3 separate regions of the Homo sapiens genome follow, and regions 2 and 3 are each linked to region 1. Evidence: promoter capture Hi-C in 16 types of primary human blood cells and fetal thymus (Javierre and others, 2016). All regions are on one chromosome and are shown on one strand. Each heading gives the region's core, a stretch centred on a gene start or on the middle of the fragment in contact. The rest is flanking DNA. Distances are from core to core; before and after follow the strand shown. Region 1 holds the start of MSN (moesin). Region 2 overlaps VSIG4 (V-set and immunoglobulin domain containing 4). Region 3 has its middle 6.5 kb from the start of MIR223HG.

Evidence for each region. Contacts are between HindIII fragments. The CHiCAGO score rates a contact against its expected background, and 5 or more counts as called.
Region 2: a contact is called between a fragment that was not itself captured here and the fragment with the promoter of MSN in region 1, in 2 of 17 cell types (neutrophils and non-activated CD4 T cells). The highest score is 6.0, in neutrophils.
Region 3: a contact is called between a fragment that was not itself captured here and the fragment with the promoter of MSN in region 1, in 2 of 17 cell types (non-activated CD4 T cells and M0 macrophages). The highest score is 6.4, in non-activated CD4 T cells.

Annotation. Positions count from the first base shown.
Region 1 is chrX:65,665,332-65,670,477 of GRCh38, reverse strand. MSN (moesin) reads right to left here and starts at 2,824. Exons shown (of 13, transcript NM_002444.3): 1 at 2,625-2,824. The coding sequence starts at 2,636. RefSeq lists a silencer at 2,803-3,132. The HindIII fragment of the contact is 6,503 bases long and covers 1-5,146 here.
Region 2 is chrX:66,025,458-66,030,603 of GRCh38, reverse strand. It overlaps VSIG4 (V-set and immunoglobulin domain containing 4), which reads left to right. Exons shown (of 8, transcript NM_007268.3): 4 at 2,492-2,554; 5 at 3,078-3,155. Among named protein-coding and RNA genes, the nearest start is that of MIR223, 9.2 kb to the right of the region's middle. The HindIII fragment of the contact is 1,268 bases long and covers 1,935-3,202 here.
Region 3 is chrX:66,006,414-66,011,559 of GRCh38, reverse strand. No RefSeq gene overlaps it. Among named protein-coding and RNA genes, the nearest start is that of MIR223HG, 6.5 kb to the left of the region's middle. The HindIII fragment of the contact is 324 bases long and covers 3,735-4,058 here.

The sequences.
Region 1 (5,146 bases), core at 1,575-4,074:
GCTGGGATTACTGGCTGGAGCCACCACGCCCGGCTGGCGTGTTTTAACAAATGTAGGGGAGGTTGGGCTGACTAGGAGGGACAATTAGCTATAAAAGTGAAACCGACCCTAGATAGGTTGTAGACATGCTGCAATATGAATGAACGAGTTTGATTTTCCACTACCTTTCTCCATCTGTCACACGCTAGAAATAGCCTAAAGCACATAAATGAAAATGGAGCAGAGAAAGGGAAATTTTTTCCCCTTTTAATTAAAATTACTGGTTGGTATTCAGTGAACTAGGGTGTGCCCCTGAACACCTTGGCCTTGGTATGAGGAATAAGAAAAGTAACAGAAGGCACCTGGTGACACTACCGAACCTTACCAGGAGACCACACAAATGTCAACCTTGGCCACTTTGCTCAAATTACTCATTTCCTTTTATCTGAGGACCATAAAGGTCTGAGAACAGTGGGCAATTTGTTTGGAGCAAGAAAGGGAACTCAAATGTCAAGAACTCAATCATTGGGTCAGAATAAAGGGTCAATGAGATGAGCATCAGAAAGCCTGGACCCCAATCTTGGCTCAGTCACCATGTGCCCTTAGGTAGGTCTTTCCCTGTAGGTCTCAATAGCCTCATTAGATTTTTGTTTTAGTTTTAGTTTTTTTTTTTAAGAGAGTTGTACTAAATAGTCTCCAAGGTCCCTTTCAGGTTAAGATTCTATGATCTTAACAGACATAATATAGTTGCTTTTCCTAAAAGTTGACCATTCCTTGAGTCAAAGTATAGAAAATTCTCTAATACTTCCAGTCTATCAAAATTCAGCCCTCTCCTTCCAATTTGATTCAGGTTTCAGTCAATCTGCATAAAAATGCCTTCAGTATTTAGGTACCCTCATTACTCCAGGCCTGACTACAAACAGCTTATACTCCATTCTCTCTCCATTCCCAGGAAAACAATAAACACGCTGTCTTGTCTTCTTTGCCACTTTGACTCAGATGAGACGGTTAATGCAAGTTTGAAGCAACTTCCAGGCCCATGAAGCTGTGTTTCAAAGTGGGCTATCTCAGAACTGAGGATGAGATATGCCACTACAGAAGAAAGACCGTGGAGCAATGTCTATTCCCAGAGATCCACCCAACTGTTCAGGCAAAGCCGCACCTTAAGAGGAGTCAGGAGTCAACCACAGAGAGAGACCCAAAGAGCCGCTCCTGACAGGATCTTTATAATCTTGTTTTGGCAGACAATGGGATATTTTCCCCTCTCTCCAAAACCATTACTCTCTCTCTTTGGGGGCGGGGACTAGGGAACAAAGTGTGTAAAAGCCTCATGTCCTAAAACCACAAGCAATTTAAAGGAGATAGACAGTGAAAGCACATACTTTTTGAAAACTTGGTGTTTCTGAAGGACAAGGTTCTGGAAAGGCAAGAACGACTTGGCAGTGAGGCTGGTATACAGTAACGTGGCAACCAAAGCTCATCACAAACCCAAAAGGCTGGGCCCCCAACTCTCCTCCTCTCATCCCAGGGGACCTTCAGCCCTTTTCAAGGCTACTAGTCACTATCTCACCTCTACAAGGCTCAAGCAGTCCTGGGGAGACATGTTTGGGAGCACTGCATTGCCTAGGCCAGCTCAACAAGCTGTTTGGCCTAAGGGACTCAAGCCAGGGTGGTCACCAGGCCTTTCTGAGCAAGGGAAGGGCCTCAGCAGCCATTTGGCATGACTTGCACAAAAGCAAGCAGAGCTCATTAGTCAGGCACACCCCTCCTCCCCTCTCCCTCCTGGGCATCCGGCCCCCCTATCCCCACTCCCAGGAGGCTTCTGTTCCTCTCGTAACAGCCAGTGGGGTGGAGACGCATCCCCAAATCAACCACCACTCTAGAAAGGTGTGGCCCCACGAGAAAACCCACACCACACAAAATAGTCCGGAGGGGATAGGAGGAGATAGAGAGGCATTAAGCAATAGGAGGGGCAGGGATTTGGAGGTGGAGAGGAGGGAGAAACCGGTCCTCTCTCCCAGGAGATGGGGTAGGCCTCTCCTCAGACTGGTGCCTAAATAAGTGTTGGTGCTCTCGGGTGCAGCCTCGATGACGATTTCCTCACATCTCTCTCCTCACCTCCTAGTGGAAAACAGCTGGAGCCACCCGGTGAGGCTGTGGGAAAGATGAGTGGGGGTGCCGGATCCGCCCCGAGCGGCTCCCTCCTTTCTCCCTGCTTCTCTGTTCCCATGTCCCCTCTTGGACATTGGCAGCCTTGCCCCAGAAAGGTGCCAATTCCTGGGTTGGGGAAAGTGTTGTCTTCTGGACCAGAATCCTCTCCTCTGTGCCCATGGCCCATCAGGGAAAAGGGGAAACCCCAGGCCCCAACGAAGCCGTCCTGACTGTTGCATCTCAGACACAGGGAACTGGAACCTGAGAAAGAGGCAGGCCTCGCCCCGTCCAAACTTCCAGCCTGGACACCCCCTCAACCCCTGAGGGCGCACCAGACCAGGATCCCACTCCGGTCCCCTCCCTACCCTTGGCTATGGCGGAGGGCGCGGCGTCCCAGGCGGGCCGGTGGCTGGCCAAGCCCTCAGCCATCAGCAAAGGGCTATGAGGCTCAGCCAGAGCCATTGGGGTCGACAGCGCCCACCTCCGGCACTCACCGTTTTGGGCATGGTGGCGGCAAAGGCAGCGGAGTTGGCGAAGTTTAGCTAGGACTGTCGGGCAGTGCTGAGCACGCAGTACACACGGCTTGGATTCGGCTGGCCGGGGACTCAGATTGGGTCCCTCACTAGCGTCGGGGCGACTGTTAGGCTTCCTGCTAACGGGCCACGACTTCACAAACCCCACCCAGGAAAGAGCCGCCCCTGTCGCGCCGCCCGCTCCTTTATGTGGCCCGGCTTCCGCGCCGCTCCCCGCCCTCGCGCCCGCCTCCCCGCCGACCGCTGGCCTTGCCCCGCCCAGCCCCGCCTGGCCAGGCCCGGCGCAGCCAGGCCACAGCGGCCACGTGGGGGGCCCGGCTGGGCCCGGGCGGACCTAGGGTAGCTACCACTCCCCACCCAGACCCACCCGGCTCCTCTCCCACCCTGGTCACAGCCCCTAGCCTTCCACGTCCTGGCCTTCCAGCCCCACCCCCACTCAGGGCCCAGACCCTGGGCCCTGACAGATGCTTACTCAGCCCCTGACTGCAACTTTCCACTGATGGGGAGCTCACTACCTATCTTTTCCTTCTCTAGACAGCTCTGGCTCTTAGAAAGTTCTTGCCGTGTCTGAACTCCTTTTCTCTATGGCTTCCATCCATGGATCTCAGTTCTGCTCCCTGAGGCCACACAGATCCCCTGTTGTCCCTAACAGCTCCTCAAAGGCCTGAAGATCTCAGGTCCACAGGAAACTTCTCTTCTTTTGGCTAAACTGCCTCACCTCTTAAAACACTTCATCCATTCTCTTCCGTAGGACTCTCCCCATCATATTTCCTACCCATCCTTGCTCAGTCCTCATTTATCTTTCCTTCATCTAAATCCCAGTCTTCACCTTCCTCAAATCAGTGACCTGATCCTTTAGCCCCTCTCCCAGTACATTCACTTTCTGATGTCCTGATGGGGCTGGCTATAATTCCCTCAGGTTAGATGTGACCTCCCTAGTCCACACCCTTGGGGTTTGTCTGCCAGCTCCCTTTCTCCTTCTTGTCAAGGTCACAGAATCCCAGGATGGCAGTGTTCTAGACTGTTGAAGTCGTCTGGTCAAGTCTGAGTTTTAGGCTGAGTGCGGTGGCTCATGACTGTAATCTTAACACTTTGAGAGGCTGATGCAGGAGGATTGCTTGAGCCCAGGAATTCGAGACCAGCCTGGGGAGCATATCAAGACCCCCTCCCATATCTATACAAAAAAAATAAGTGAGAGCCGGGCATAGTGGCTCACTCCTGTAATCCCAGCACTTTGGGAGGCTGAGGCGGGCTGATCACCTGAGGTCAGGAGTTCAAGACCAGCCTGGCCAACATGGTGAAACCCCGTCTCTACTAAAATTACAAAAATTAGCCGGGCACGTGCCTGTAATCCGAGCTACTCGGGAGGCTGAGGAGGGAGAATCGCTTGAACCCGGGAGGCGGAGGTTACAGTGAGTCAAGACTGAGCCAGTGCACTCCAGCCAGGGCAACAGAGTGAAACTCTGTCTCAAAAATAATAATAATAATAGTAAGTGAGACCATGTGCAGTGGCTTACACCTGTAATCCTACCACTTTGGGAGGCCAAGACCTGCAGATCACTTGAGGTCAAGAGTTTGAGACCAGCCTGCTCAACATGGCGAAACCTCATCTCTATTAAAAATGCGAAAAAAAAAAACAAAAAAATTAGCCGGGTGTGATGGCACGTAGTTCCAGGCACTCGGGAGGATGAGGCAGGAGAATCGCTTCCGGGAGGCGGAGGCTGCACTGAGCCCAGATTGGGCCACTGCACTCCAGCCTGGGCAATAGCACAAGACTCCGTCTCCAAAAAAAGTAAAATAAAATAAGTCCGAGTTTTAGTTTGAAAGTGGCTGGCCATAGTCCTTTTTTCCTCCTCTCCACTGGCAACCATGTGAAGGCATGGTCTGAGTATCCTTTGTGAGGTAAGGCACCACAGATGGTAAGCCAGTTTGAGACAATGGAAAGGATACTTGAGAGGTCAGGACACCTGGCTTCTACGTATAGCTCTGCCATTAACTCATCCTATGACCACTATGTGGCCTTGGGTAATTCCCTCCCCCTCTCTGGGCTTGAGTTTCCATTTCTGTAGCAAGAAAGGACTGGACTCCGGGGCTTCCAAGGTCCTTTCCCACTCTGACATTATAAAGGGATGAGAAAGGAAGTATACTCCCTAGGACAATAGATGAGCCTAACAGGATTGCATATGGGCTGGTCTTGCATTTGCACTCAGGAACCAGTAGTCTGATTCCATCCTCTTCCTTTGCCTTCCCAGACCAACAGTGTCCACGATTCAGTGTGCCTCGGTTTCTCTCACTGCTAACAAGATTCATTGATGTGTGCTAGGGTAAACAAAGTTCCCTGCCAAGATCATTTCCTTGAGCTAAGCATTTGTTCAAAGAGCAGCACTCATCGGAAAGCCCAAACAGTCTCCATGAGCAGTTGTCCCCAAGGAAGAGCAGCACTCACCAGAAAGCCTCAGCAGCAGGAGTAGCAATGACAGCTC
Region 2 (5,146 bases), core at 1,319-3,818, 360 kb before region 1:
CCCTCCTCTCTGCCTTGATATTTCCCTATCCATTTCCTCTTGGCTCAGAGTAAGGTATGCTTTGCTCCTCTCCACAACAAGCCCCTCCTCCTGAACTCTTAACATCAGCTACTCCAATGCCCTGCAATACCCTTTATCCTCTACCTAAGCCAAATAGATATGCATGTATAATATATGTATATATGTCAGTATGCAAGCCTAATACATACATATATATATGTTATTTTTCAAAAATCTTTCTCTCCATCTGCCACCTCATCTCTCCTATGTTCACTACCAACCTTCTCACGAAGGTAGCTTCCACCAGCTGAACCTCTCAATTCATTCACCACAACATAACTTTGTAATTTGGGGTCATCATTAACCTCCATATCACCAAATCCCAAGACCTCTCCATTCATACTTTTCCTCCTCAACATCTGTGTAGCAGTGGATCCTGTTGGCCATTTCTTCCACCTCAATATTCTTTTAATCACTGCTATTGATGACACCAACTTATCTTGGTTCTTCTAAGACCTTCCTGAATGATCCTTCTGAGACACCTTTGTTGGCTCTTTTTTCATTCACTCCTTAATTGTAAATGTTCTCAAAGACTCAATTCTTATTCATCTCTGCATGTATTTCTATATTATCAGGAGATTTTATTTACTTCTGTGGCTTCAAATATCACCTGTAGTCTGATGACTCTCCAACCATAATATTATCTGTATTTATTTTTTCCTGACTGCTAGATCCCAGTGTCTAGTTACCTTCTGGACAGCTTCATTTCTAATTTCAGCGTGTTCAAAACTGATCGTACCTTTTACTCACCAAACCTGTTCCTCAAACCTGTTAGAAAACATAGCAGTACCTTTGACTCCTCCTTCTCTTTTACCTCGCATCGTCAAATAATCATCAATATTACCAAGTGCTGTGAATTCACCTACTGAATCAGATACCTTATTAGGCTCTTTCTTTCTCTTCCTATACCCTCATGGTCTCATATTCTTTTTTAAAAAACAATTTCAATCATCTTCTAAATGTTCTCCCCATGTTCATACATTCTTACGAAGTCATCAACTTATTCAATATTTATTGAGTATATATTTTATGTCACTAGATTATAAAATTCAAGAGTGCAGAATTCTACCTGTCTACTTCATTGCTGTTTTTCAGAGCCCAGCAAAGTATCTGGCACAAAGAAGACACTAGACACTAGATGAATACTGTATTTGTTAATGAATGGGGAAAATATGCTATTGCCTTACCTTTGAAAATCCTACCACACTGTTGTCAGAATTATTTCCAAAAAAAATAGACTGAACAATTTTTGCTTCCTTTCTCAAAAGGAAGTAAACCTTTCTCAAAAGGTGTAACCTTCTGTTACACCCCATGGATCTTTCCAACTAAAGAACAAAGCCCAAACCCTTTTAGTCTGTTTTCAGCCTACCTATCCAGACTTATCTACTAATATGTTTCGCCACATCTAAAACGGAGCATGCTGTTTCCTCTGCTAGCAAGAGGGAGAAGCTTATGGTTTTCTCATGTCTTTTCTGAGCAGGTACATGGCCCTGTGCTTGTGTGTGGCCTCCTAGTTTCCCAGAACTGTGTCAGAACTCTTCAAAATCCCTATGGAAATCTTATTCCTCAACCATTTTTAAGGCTATTTTGGTTAGTTTTTTTTGTTTTCTCGCCTATTATCCATTGCCTCAGGCAGCTGTGTGACAAATGCTACCCCATCCCTGGGGAGAGGCTCTTAGCACTGGGTGACCAATAAAACAAGTCTTTTGAGTCAGGTCTTTCAGGGAACCACCAGACAGGCCAAATAATGGCAATTATTCAAAAATGAAGTTTGTTGGGCTCACTCCAGCACCTGGAATGGGGTTGTATGTTCAAGATTACCTCTGAGGTAGAAGGGGTAAGGGGACTAGGAGAAGTTAAAACAGCACAAAGCTTGCTGTTCTTACCAAAACTGGGATATTTTTCTTCCATAAATCCTGTCTAAGGTGCTGCAAACCTTTGGCTATTTTGCAAAATTCTAAAAAAAAAAAAAAAAAAAAAAAAAAGTTGATTACGTCAAATTTTGCATTATTTCACTGATGTTGTTAAAGGGTAAATTTCTGGAGGTTATTATGTCACCATTTTCACTGATGTCACCCATTGCCACTTTCTTTATGATACTTCCCAAGTTTCTCTCAAGAGAATTAATTACTAGGTCTCAGTTAGAAGTTAGTAAAAATAAAATATATTTTCCCATCCAAGTTGACTGACTCTCTGAACTCTAGCTACAGGTTCCTTCGAGATCTATTAATCCTGGGTTAAAAACTCTGTCCTTGATTGATGTATGAAAGATGAACAAGCAACACAGGACTTACCAGCATCATGACAGAAGTGTTGAGGCAGGTCCAAGTATGGACCTGAATGGCCTTTACTTACTTCCTATTTCCCTAGGGCATTAAACTATTCACCAAAGGGTACCAGGTCCCTTCAATCGGTTCCCTTTTCCTTGCAGACTCCTCAAAGCTACTCAAGACCAAGACTGAGGCACCTACAACCATGACATACCCCTTGAAAGGTGAGTTTTGCTAGAGTCTGAGGAAGTAGTAGAGGTTCAAAATGGTGTCATCGTAGCCAAGAAAGGAATCACAATGCCATGGAATGGCTAATAAACAGTCACTTGGTTCCTCAGAGAGAACATAGCAGTAAAGGAATGGAAACAAAAGAAAGGTAACAATGATGAATATATACTCTTTTTTTGTGAAAACTTCTGAGGCAAAAGGAAAGAGAGGGTTAGAATTACTCCCATTGGAAATACAAAAAACAAGAACACTAAATTCTATTCTGCTCCTAGTTTGACTTGCTGTGTGACTTTGGGTACATTACCTCCCCTCGATGGGAATTCTTCTCACTGCCCACACCTAACAGTAAGAAATGAAGATGCCTTATCTCATGGTACTAGTGGTTGATAACATGGTCAGGTACCCTGGAAAGTACAGCACAAATGGCCAGGGAAGGACTCCAACCTTTGCAACCATCTCCTATCTCTCAACTTTTTGAAAGAAGAGAGACATCTCTGACCCTATTCTCTATATTCATAGCAACATCTACAGTGAAGCAGTCCTGGGACTGGACCACTGACATGGATGGCTACCTTGGAGAGACCAGTGCTGGGCCAGGTAGGAATATTGTCAGGATTTCTATCTTTTCTTCTTGACTCTAAGCTTTGTGACCAAAACTTTCCCTTATGCACACTGTTCTACAGCATTGAAATCTGCAAATCATTACCTGCTATGTGCCAAGCAATGGTCAAGGGCACTGAGGATGGGTAAAGTGGGTAGGATGTAGAGAGAGAGATACAGATCCAGAGATGAGCAAAGTCAGAGTGAGGTTAAGGGGAGTGATAAATGTGCCCTTTATTTAGTTCTCTGTTGTCATAGTAATATGCTTTCCAAACATTCTGAGCAAGAATATGGATAGGGACATTATGACATCATGACCTCAACCAGGTAAGGATAATGGCTGAGTGTCATTGCTTGAGCTCTTAACCAGGGCTCTTCAAGCCGCTTGAAGCTGATTTCTGATTCCTCCAAAGCCTTGAAAATTCCCAAGTCAGGGTCTCAGAGATTCAAATCCCAAATAAATCTTTTGTGTTTCACCTGCATCTGATAGTCAGTTGGTATGCCTTCACATGACTACATTGACTGTTGAAATAATAGAACACTCTCACACCAATTGATAATTAGCTGCTCCCCTTAACCCCTGAGCCCTCCATTATTACCTGGGGCTGCCTTGTCCCATTCCTCAGAACTCTCTAGACCACCCCCATGGTCATGCAACAAAAGGTATACCAAGGAATCTCTAAGACTCCAAGTCTACAGTAGGCATCTGTTGTGACTGGTTGGAATTAAATAGTTTGATAACTATCACTCCTGGTACTCATTCTCTGCCTGTGTATAATTGAGAGAGTGGACTTCCAAATGCTCTTTGTAACTCTCCATTCCTGATTGCAGAGTTTTTTGGCTATCCCTTGGCAGCACTCAAACCTGTTTTATGTTCCACATTTGCATTGCCATCTTTGGCTTCAAGATTTCCATAGCTCCGTTCCTCTCCGAGAAGAACATCTACTGGGAGAAGAGAAGTTAGAAATTGCCTCATAGGGAGTTGGTTTGGAAAAATGAGAAAATAACCTTGGGCAAAGTTATTAGATGTTGGGTCTGCGCCCTATTTTCTCTACCAAGTTTTTTAGTACTTGACTCTCTTCAAAAGAGAATATTTCTTCGATTTGTACCAGCTTATAACTTGAGCTCTCTCAGTCCCAACAAGACACTCTGAGGACCACAAATACTGGATTCCTAGGACACGATATCTTAGAGTCTCATGAAAACAAGCCAGTTGCAGCAACAAATCCTAAGTACACTGAGGTTCCTTTCCTCACGCCTCTCTATCCCCCCTGACCTAGCATCTTAGATTCAGAATATTATAGCTAAAAGTGCTTTAGACATCATCCAATCTTTTCATTGAACTTATGGGGTAACTAAGGCCTAGTGACAGTCAAAGTTTTGTCTAAGGTCACTGTATTCATTTTTCCATGGCTGCTGTAAAAACTTACCCCAAACCTAGTATCTTAAAACAGCATAAATATATTATCTTCCACTTCTGGAAATAAGTCTGACACAATTATCACTGAGCTAAAATCAAAATGTCAGTCAGCAAGGCTATGTTCCCTTTGGAGGGTTTGGAGAAGAATTAATTTCCTTGTCTTTCTTTTCTGGCTTCTAGAAGCTACCCACGTTCTTTGGCTCATGGCCCCCTTCCTCCATTTTCAAAACTAACAATGTAGCATTCTCAAATCTCTGTTCCTTTTTACTATGTAAACTAACATACTGACAGGTTCCAGGAATTTGGATGTGAATATCTTTAGAGGACCATTATTCTGCCTACCATAGTCATACAGAAAGTAAATAACAGATCTAGGACTGGAAGCCAAGTCCAGTTGATTCTTTCAGCTTTTAGGCATAATGGGAATATGTGTCTCAAGTGGCTCAGTGGAAATATGTTTTGAGAAAGAAGGAAGCTGGGGACTTGACCAGAGCGTGTGATGGGAAGAATCTTTGTGGCTAGAAGTAACTGACCAGAATCTTAATAAGGTATGTAGCATTTTTGGTGA
Region 3 (5,146 bases), core at 2,647-5,146, 340 kb before region 1:
AATTCTCTGTGTGACCTTGAGCAAATCCCTCTCCCTTTCTGGGCCTCCAAATTTCCATCTCTACAATAAGTCTGATTAAATTTATTCACAAAACAAATACAAGTTGAATGTGTTCTAAGTGTCAGGCATGGTGCAAGGTACTCAAGATGCAGAAGTGAAAAAGACATATAAAACGCTTGCCTTCTTGACATATACCGTGTGGTGGAAAATAGCCATTAAACAAATTTTTTAAATATGTCAAGAAAGGGGGAAGATCAGAGAGCAGGGAGAACACGTAACAGGATAACATAATCCACCAGACTTGGATAGGTCAAGAAAACTTCTCTAAGGAAGTAACTTTTAAAGTGAGACGGAAAAATGAAAAGTAGTGAGCCAAGTGGATAATGGGTGCAAGGCAATTCCAAGCAGAAGAAGCAACATGTATAAAGGTTCTGAGATGGAGAATAATGTGGCATATTCCAAGAAGATAAAAGGCTGGTATGGCTTGAAAAAGAGTGAGCAAAGGAAAAAATAGCACAAAGCAAATAGAAGAGTTAAGCCGGGGGCCAAACTAAGAAAGGACTTGTATGCTATGTTGGGCGTTTGAGACATGAGAAGCCAGAAAGTGTATATATGTGATGCAGTGCCCTTCTATATTCAAGCCTAGGATTTTAGGGGTCCAGACTATGGCAACAAACAGGAAAAAAAAGTTAATTTCAACTGGTTGGATTAGAGACTTCACAGAAGAGGCCGAATTTTAAAAGAGCCTTGAAGGATAACAGGATCAATAATCAGAGAAAGGCATTTCAGGCAGAGGAAAGAACCCAAGTAAAGGTGCAGAGATAGGAAAGAATATGGTGAGCTTGTGTGAATAGGGAGACTACCGATACAAAATGGCAAATATAAGCCTGAGAGCATTTTTAAGTATCTATAGATATCGTAGAATAATAGTAGCCCAAAGGCCTATCCAACACACCAAATGTGCTCTGGAGGAAACCTGGCAAAGAGGTTCGACCTATCAGGAGATCCATTTTGTACTGGAATAACAATAATTAACAAGTATTGTGAGCTTACTAAGTGCCAGGCACTGTTTGAAGCCCTTTACATATGTTAGTTTATGTAATCCTAACAACAACCTTATGAGGGAGATACTATAATTACCTATTAAATGGCAGATGTAGGATATAAATATCATGCAACAATTTATGAAAGGTAGAAATTTTGGAGCAATCTACAAAAAAATATACAATATGTCTCTGGCTGGAAAATGTCAAATTCAAGTCAGTTATCATCTCAGTCTTTAAGGGCAGTTTTTTCCAAGAAAACCTCATTAATTTCCAATTTATGATTGTTAGATAAGTCTGAGCTGAAGCTTTTGTTTAGCTTCTTAGAAAGACAAAATAAATGAAGTAAATAAAATAGGAGTTCCAGGGAGTTGTTTAAAGACAGAAAACCAAACTGGTTCTACTTACTACCCATACCTCACTCCCACTTAGAGTCCTTCAGAACCTTCCATCTATGGCAGAAATAACTGAAGTGACCCTAATCAACCATTTTAATCTATTTCCTATAATGGCCCACCTAAAGGTTTTTACTAAGCAGTAGCTGTTTTTGTTTTGTTTGTTTGTTTTTTTCTTAAAATGAGTAAAGAGTTTATCTGGGCCAAGCTTGAGAGCTGCAACTCAGGAGCATAGATTCGAGTTGCCCTAAATATACACTCCCTTGGGAAAAATTTTAAATGGACAATGAAGAAATGAATGAGGAATCAACTTTCAATAGCCTATTGTAAATAGTATATTTGGAAGGAACAAACATGTATTTATTTAAAATATATATTCTCACTCTAGTCTGTCTCTCACTCCCACTATTCACATCACACCTGTAGTCCCAGCTACTGGGGAGGCTGAAGCAGGAGGATCACTTGAGCCCAGGAGTTCAAGGCTGTAGTGCACTATGGTCACCTGTGAATAGCCACTGCACTCCAGCCTAGGCAACAGAGGAAAACCTTGTCTCAAAAAATAAATAAATAAGAGGAAATTCTGTCATTTTCAACAACATAAATGGAATTGGAGATTACGTGAAGTGAAATAAGCCAGGCACAGGAAGACAAATGCCACATAATCTCACTTACAGGTGGATTCTAAGATAATGAAAGTTATAGAAGCGGAGAGTAGAATGACGGTTACAGAGGCTTGGGGGTGGGTGGAATGGGGAGATAATTTTCAAAGGGTACAAAGTTTCAGACAGAAGGAATAGGGTTTTTTTGAGATCTATTGCACAGCATGGTGAATACAGTTAATAATAGTATATTGCATGTTTCAGAATTGCTAAGAGAGTACATTTCAAATTATTCAACAAATTATAAGTATTTGAGACAATGGATATATTAAATTTAATTACTCCACATTGTATTCATAAATCATAACATCACTTTGTATCCCACAAATACAATTATAAATTTACAATAAAAAATTAAATGAATATATCTATATATCTGTATGTATCTATATATCAGTATAGAGATATTTCCTAATTCAGACTGGGGTAGTTGCCCGTGATATCATTGACTTGGCACACACAGACTATTTTCATCTTCTTAGTTTGTCTTCTGAGTAAAGGAAGGGCAAGAATTGTGCCTTTTGGGAAACAAAAAGAAAATTTAGAACAGACCCTTGAGCTTTCACCACAGCTAAACATTTGCTAGAACTAGATTTGGCACTGATTCAGGAATCAGTCAATCCCTAAAAAATTGATACCTCATGGGGTTACAAAGTGGAATCCTGAGAGCTCCTGTAAAGGCCAGATAATGCAAGGTAAGAAGCAGAAAAGCTTCATATTGGCATCAGAAGGGACACTGCCTTCTATTATCGGTTCTAGGCAGAATAGGAAGTGGGAATTGGAAGAAAAACACTTTTGTTGAGTACTTATTATGTACCACCTACTCTCACTCTCTATTACATCACTTATTACTCTCAATAACCTTATAAAATAGGAAGTGGGAATTGGAAGAAAAACACTTTTGTTGAGTACTTATTATGTACCACCTACTCTCACTCTCTATTATATCACTTATTACTCTCAATAACCTTATAAAATAGGAATCATTTCTATTTCGCAAATGTAGGCATTGAAGCATGAAGAAATTAAGCAACTTCCTTCAACGTCACATATTTAGTAAGTGGCAAAGCTGAGATTTATAATTTTGTCAGAATTTAGAATTCCAAATTCTAAAATTAAGAAGTTTATTGCTAAGATGGCATAAGAGAGGCTACTCAATGACTCACCATATCCTTTGGCCCCCTCAAACCCTGCTGCCTAGCTGTTTCCCGTAGCCTTAAAGAAAAAAGGGGTTTATTCCACTCAATTGCAAACTCCATGAGAGCAGGAACCATGTCTGTCATACCCAGTTTTCAATTAGACTGCTGATTTCTTTTTCTTAATTGATTTTGGGTGTACTTTGTATGTTAGAGAAATTTTTCCTTTGTATGTAATGAGAATTGTAATTATTTCCACTAGTTTGTCATTTGCCTTTTGACTTTGCTTCTACCATGTTATAGTTTTGTTTATTGTTTATGTCCCCTACTAGAGTGTAAGCTCCATGAGGGTAGTTATTTTATTTTATTCTTAACTATATCCCTAGTGCTAGAGCTGTCTTGTTTATAATAGTAGGTTCTCAGCAAATATTTGTTCATGAAAAAAAAATCTTCCTGTTCTGCAAGACCAGAAAATGAGGTAATATCTGAATACTGAAAGCTTTGACCTTCCTTGGACTCTGGTTCCTGATGACCTGGTTCCTGGAAGCCATCAGGTTTGAAGGTTCATTGAAAATAGCTCTAGGCAGAGTGTCAGGAGACCTGAGTTCCAGGCCCAGCTGTGTCATGGCTTATAACATGACCTTGGGAAGTTTTCTTTTTGCTCTGGGTATTGGTCTCCCTGTATCAGTTCATTCTCATATTGCTGTAAAGAAATACCTGAGACTGGGCAATTTATATATTTTTAAAAAGTTTAATTGGCACATAGTTCTGCAGGCTGTACAGGAAGCATAGCAGCATCTGCTTCTGGGGAGGCCTCAGGAAGCTTCCCATGGTGGAAGACAAAGGGGTGCAGGCACATCACATGGTAAGAGAGATCAAGGAGAAAGGAGGGAGGTGTTACACACTTTTAAACAACCAGATCTCATGAGAACTTAATCACTTTTGCAACAACAGTACCAAGGGGGATGGAGTTAAACCATTCATGAGAAACCACCCCCATGATCCAATTATGTCCCACCAGGCCCCACCTCCAACATTGGGGATTACATTTCAACATGAGATTTGGGTGGGGACACATATCCAAACTATATCACTCCCTCACTCTCCATTTCTAAATAGGGTGAACTGTATGGTCTTTGAAGGGCCCTCTTCTCTCTCCCATTCACAGATTGGTCAAGTGGTCTAGGTAACAAGGGTGTCAAAGATAGCAAGACTGACCAAGGCCCTGCCTTCCTGGAACTCATATTCAAATGAGGGACACAGGCACTTGCCAAAGTATGTCAGGATGAAAATATAAGTATTATACAGGATAAATATAGAGTATTATAAGAGCAAATAATAGTAAACCTAATCTGGTATGAGAGTTTAGGGAAGACTTTCTTCAAAAAATATTTAAGACCTAAAGAATGATCTAGACTAAGTAAAGTTCTCAGGCCTTGTATATATGTGTACATACATAATATTAATATTAATTATACTATATTTATATTACTAGTTACCTAATTTTTCATTATTATAATGAATATGATTATTTGTTGTACATAACATAGTGATACTATGTAATATATAATATATATATCACTATATACTATAATTTATAGTGATATTATAAACATTATTTATATTATATATATATATACATATATATATATATATATACATATATATATATATATATATATATATACTCACCTAACATGTGAAAAAAGCTTTCTAAACTGCAAAGTGATAATACAACTGTGAGGGATGAATTTTCTCATTTGTCTAGGGATTTCTTTTGACCTGTTTTGGACCTCCATGGGTGGCCCTCAATGAAGGTTTCTTTGAGACTGGACCTGAACCTGAATCTGAGTCCCCTTGGGATTTGTAGGGCGACCTGCTGGTGCACTTATTGGTACAAAGTAGATATAATC